Regions from separate parts of the Homo sapiens genome. Here region 1 is linked to region 2. Evidence: promoter capture Hi-C in 16 types of primary human blood cells and fetal thymus (Javierre and others, 2016). All regions are on one chromosome and are shown on one strand. Each heading gives the region's core, a stretch centred on a gene start or on the middle of the fragment in contact. The rest is flanking DNA. Distances are from core to core; before and after follow the strand shown. Region 1 overlaps SNX27 (sorting nexin 27). Region 2 holds the start of RORC (RAR related orphan receptor C).

What was found. Contacts are between HindIII fragments. The CHiCAGO score rates a contact against its expected background, and 5 or more counts as called.
Region 1: a contact is called between a fragment that was not itself captured here and the fragment with the promoter of RORC in region 2, in 2 of 17 cell types (M1 macrophages and naive CD4 T cells). The highest score is 6.8, in M1 macrophages.

Annotation. Positions count from the first base shown.
Region 1 is chr1:151,637,950-151,640,649 of GRCh38, reverse strand. It overlaps SNX27 (sorting nexin 27), which reads right to left. Exons shown (of 12, transcript NM_001330723.2): 2 at 1,531-1,762. Among named protein-coding and RNA genes, the nearest start is that of SNX27, 27 kb to the right of the region's middle. The HindIII fragment of the contact is 1,372 bases long and covers 693-2,064 here.
Region 2 is chr1:151,830,356-151,833,055 of GRCh38, reverse strand. RORC (RAR related orphan receptor C) reads left to right here and starts at 1,254. Exons shown (of 11, transcript NM_005060.4): 1 at 1,254-1,331. The coding sequence starts at 1,292. RefSeq lists an enhancer at 1,946-2,633. The HindIII fragment of the contact is 14,534 bases long and covers 1-2,700 here.

The DNA of each region.
Region 1 (2,700 bases), core at 129-2,628, 190 kb after region 2:
TAATCCCAGCACTTTGGGAGGCTGAGGCAGGTGGATTACCTGAGGTCAGGAGTTCGAGACTAGCCTGGCCAACATGGTGAAACACCATCTCTACTAAAAATACAAAACTTAGCAGGGCATGGTGGTGCGCACCTGTAATCCCAGCTACTTGGGAGGCTGAGGCAGAATTGTTTGAACCCGGGAGGCAGAGATTGCAGTGAGCCAAGATCACACCACTGTACCCCAGGCTGGGGGACAGAGTGAGACTTCGTCTTAAAAAATATATATAATAAAAATAAAAATAAACAAAGGTACAATTGGTAGTATTATTCCTTTTCTCAGGTTTCCAAGGTTTTAGGTAATTCCCAAAAGGTCTCAACATCCAGACTGCTCTACTTTTAGGATGTGACCTTGATTTCAACTTCTTACATGCCTTATGACTCAAAGTTAGCACTTAGGAAGCATAAAACTCTAAATTCTGTGTGTGGTTCTAAGACTACAGAAGTCCATGCTGAAATAAAACCTATATGCCATTATCTACAGCTAATTACAGATGCAACCAAGCATTATTTGATCCTCTGCAACTCTTTTAGCTTCCTTGCTTTTCTTATCTCTTCACTAAAAAGAATTTACCATAAATGTTTAGTAGCTCGTTCCTATGCAGAGGATAAATCTCAGTTTTAGAGACTGTAACTTTAGTCAACTGTTAAGCTTTAAAACCTGTAGTCTGTTTGCCAGCATCTAACAGAACCCACTGCATTTTCTACTAAGAATAATGAACATTTCTCATTATATCAACACTCCACAAATAATTAAAGGCAAATAAAGCATATTGCAACCAAAAGAAAAATTAAGTAGACTGAGCTATCAGTGGCAATTAGGCTCTGAAGAACAAAGGCATTCAGCAAAGGGGCTAGCACACATCACTAAAAATTCAAGATGGGCTTTCCTGCATAGCTACAACAGCAACAGATTAGAAATGTGTGAAACAGCTCATGGGAATTGCATTCAGGAAACTCGTGGGAAAAACCACAGTTAATCATTCACACGGATATCTCCAAAGAAAATGAAAAAGAACATGATGTGGAAAGAAGAGTAGAGACATCTAAGTTCTGAAATGGGTGAACCTCTCTATTACCCAAATATCTTGAAGGACACCATCCTTTTACATTAATCTTGCCCTATAGCACCACAGAATCAACAGTAAATAAGATACTATTAGCAAAGAGATACGGCAACCAACAAAAGAACAAACAAAAAAGAAACTAAACAAAAACTCACACGTTTACGACAAACCAGAATGCAAACTTGAAACTATCTAAAAATAAAATGGAATTATACTCAAGCTGAGTAGGACTCTTTTCCACTACTGTAATTCACCCCCTGCAATAAATCAGGGTCAGTGTCTTTTATTTATGTGTGAACTCATCCTCCTGGTAGACAAACTGACCTAGGTTGCAGCCTTTTATCTACCACTATAATAGTTTCATAATTATAAGACTAGGGGAAACAAAGCTAGATGTTCGAGGATCGAGTTGGGCTGACACTCACCACAAACTTCTCACCATTCTGCTCCACATGTTTGTATCTGGGGACCGATATGGGCACTGCTTGCTTTTCTGTGTAATCATAAAATGATTGTCCCAACGAGTCGTCACTGGGATCTAGGTTATCTGCCTCATGAGGAGGTACAGATAACACTGTCAAGATCAATTCCTTCTCGCCTGCTCGAATCAGGTCCACCACCTGCTTGTGTGTCGCCCCCTCAACATTCACGTGGTTCCTAAGGGGAAAAAGGGAAAAAGACAATCCCATAAACCAGAAGGGTCCAAACACCTTGTATCTCCACCCTCCTGCCCAAACTCCAGTGTCACACGGTATGAACCATGAAGTCAAAAGATTAATTTGGTTCCAGAAAAGTTGTTTATGTTTTAACAGTTTCTAATGTGAAAAACTTTGTGAACTTATGGCGGGGGGAAAAATGGAAAGAGGTGAGAAGACCTCCCCTTCCTCTATACTAATATCCCACACATAGCTTCAGGAACGCACATGGAAAGAGGCTGAAGCTGAGGAGGAAACAAAGCTTTTTCAGTCAAACAATCCAATTTCCTCATTCTAACTAAGCATGTATACAATTCAATCAAAGTGGCTTTTGACAGCCCTGCCACTTGAATTGTACTTTGTCCTTTTTAAACCTCAAAGGAATTCTGTTAAAAGAACCTTCACAAAATAAATTCTCTTAATTTGTAAATAGAGACTCAAAAAAAGTTATGACTGAAGATAATTCCTTTACATTTACATCCAATTTCTCTCCATATCTCAAATCAGTCAACTTAATTTTCCTTTATGCCAAGTTTCATTACTTTGGGAGCTAAATGGTATTACTCTTCACATACACTAGTTTCCAATTCAATTAACCTCTTGGGATTCCATCAACTTTTTTCCTGCTCTATGCTATCTCATTTAGAGTCCTGTGTAATCAGTCCAAACTAAAAAATATACACCTATAATTATATGGTCAGCCTACTAATTTTCCTTCCTGTTTTGCTGTGTACAAAAGGCTGAAATAAGGCAAACAAAGTACAAGGTTTAGATGAAGTATTTTGTCAAGAAAGATGCTGAGTCTCACAAGACTCCCTCAGCAAACCAAACTACCTTCCAGAATGCTGATCCAGCTGCTCTCTCAGCAAAAACCACTGGGCAGCAGGCCTGGAGGTTCCC
Region 2 (2,700 bases), core at 5-2,504:
ATGACCCTAGGAGTTGAAAAGTCCTTCTCCACTTCTACCTTTATCTCTCAATCTGCAGCCATGGGGAGACTCTGGGAGCTACCTAAGAACAGAGGTGCTGATGGTAGCAGAGTGTGAAGCTCCAGGGTTGGGCAGGAGTGGAGGATGGCGAGACGAGACGGCAGAAGAGGGAAGGGACAGCTGCTTGCCCTCTCCATGCCAGGTGCCACGTGCACCAGGTGGGGGGGAGTGGGCGAGTCACGAGGCTGTGGCATGGCTGACTCCTGCTCTGCTGTTTACCAGCTGGGAACGAGAGCAGGAGGAGGTGCCAGGGAGCCTCTTGCTGCAGCCTGGCCCCTGGCCAGTTGCTTGTTGGGTAACCAGGAGAGTCAGGCCCAGCTAATCAAACTCTGGGCCCAGGCCATGCAGGAGAAAAGCAGCACCAGGATCCCCAGAAGCCTCGTCCTCTTGGCCCCCTTCAGAGCCTTCACTGCAGGCCTCAGTGTGGGCCACTAGGTCTGGGAGCCTCTCCTTCTCCCAATGAGTCCAGTGCAGCATCTCTCCTCTCCTCTTCCCCACCATGGCTTCTCTGCCTCCAGGCACTCCTCCAGGCCTGCCCCTTGCCCCAACAGATGAGGAGCACGTAGAAGCATCAGGGGGTCAGGGAGTCCTGGCAAGAGCAGCAAGGGTTAGGGGCAGGGGCCGAGCAGGCAGAGGCCTCAGGGAACTGAACAGTCACTGGGAGGAGTCTGACTGCATCCTAGAGAAGAGACACAGTCCCCCAAACCTGCCCTCTCCATCTCCCCTATGCCTGTCACCTGTCTTAGGTAGAAATCACAGGATTCTAAAGTCACAAAGACTTGGGTCCAAATCATAGCTCACCCATTTATTGTTCTTGTGTGAGTCCTTGGGCAAAATCATTAATATCTCTGAGAATCCCTCCACTCACTGATCAATCTGGAATAATAATGTTTCCCTGTGGTGGGTGCTGTGAATATTTACACAAAGTAAAAGCATGGATTTACATAAAGTGTCCTGCAAAGGGCCCAGCACACAGTAAGTGATTAATAAATGCTAGTTCCCTTCCTTTCTCCTGTCCTGTTTCTCCTCAAGGCTCCATGCACTGGTCCACTGGTCTCTCCTCATGTCCCCTCCTGGTGCCAGGACACTCTGCCAGCCACTCCTTTTCCCTGCCTGCTGGAGGGCCAGGTGCTCCCGCCTTCCACCCTCCGCCCTCCTCCCTCCCCTGGGCCCTGCTCCCTGCCCTCCTGGGCAGCCAGGGCAGCCAGGACGGCACCAAGGGAGCTGCCCCATGGACAGGGCCCCACAGAGACAGCACCGAGCCTCACGGGGTAAGAGGCCCATGGCCCTGCCTGCAGGTGGAAGAGACTGCTGGAGGTTCAGAGGAGGGCAGAAATGGCAAGAGACTGGGCAAGAAGTGAGGAGGGGAGGGAGGGACAAGAGTGCAGAGGAGAAAGCCCTGGGTTGGCAGGGAGTGAAACTGGAGGAGAAACAGGAGGAGGGGCTGGGGAGATGACAGAGGAGAAGAAATCGCAAAAGGAGAGAAACAGGAAAGAAAGGGAGAAGCGGGAGAAGGAAGAAACAGGTTGGAGGGTAGATGGGGAGGGAAGAGCCAAGTCAGGGGAGCCAGATCTAGACCCAGCGAGGGGTCAGAATGTGGACAGGCCCTCCCAGGTGTGGGCTTACCCCCCAGGAGGCACAGGGACACTGCTTCCTTGATCTGGCCAGGACCCCAGACAGCAGTGGCCGGGAGGCTGGCTGCTCCACCTTCTGTTCATTCACCAGTGGAGAAACCTGTCCTTTAAGGAGTGACAGACTTGGGGAGTGTGGCAGGGGGAACCACACCCTGTCAGCTGCCCATGACCACGTAGCCTGGTCCTTTCCTCGCCACTCACCCAGGGATGTGGGATTTCATCTCTGCAGAGAATGTGGGGCACTGGGCCATCAGCAGGGAAGGACAGAATGTCAGGCCGTCCTTGGCCCCACCCATGGTCCAAGTCAGGAACCCCCTCAGAGCAGGATCGCAGGGCCACAGGCTTGGTCAGCTGTGAGCATGGAGGAGGAAAGTTTGAGGGCCAGAGCCACCAAGCTCCAGGGCCACCTGGTGGAGGAAGAACTGGCTGCCTGGGTGAGCAAGGGGAGCACCCCCACCACAGGACTGCTCTGAGGTGCAAGGCTAGAGGCCAGGAGCCGGTGCCACGTCAGGGAGGAAGCTGGGTGGGGCCAGGCAGGAGCAAGGGGAGGTGGGCGGGGCTGGGTGGGGCCTTGCCACCTCGGGGCAGTCTTTTCTCCTCCCTCACCCCAGCAGAGCCCAGGCCATCAGGCCACTCGCCTCCACACAGCCTAGTGACCACGGCCTGCCAGTGGGGAGCATCTCCCGGGCAGAAGGGCACTGTGTGTGTGTGTGTGTGTGTGTGTGTGTGTGTGTGTGTGTATGTCAGGTGTCAAGACTGAACAGCAGAAGGAAAAAAATAACAGAATAGAGTCAGAGGTTAGGGAAGCTATAGGGGGTATAGGGCATGGTTGAAGGGCTTTCTGAGACAAAAGACTGGCCATGTGTTCTGTGATGAGCTGCTATGTGGATGTAGGAAATGGGCCAAGGTCTGGCAGGGGAATCCTCTTTCCAGGGGCTCCCTGGCTAGGTGTTTCATAGATGTTAACTGCATGAATGGGTGACACCCCCCCACCCACCAACCATGC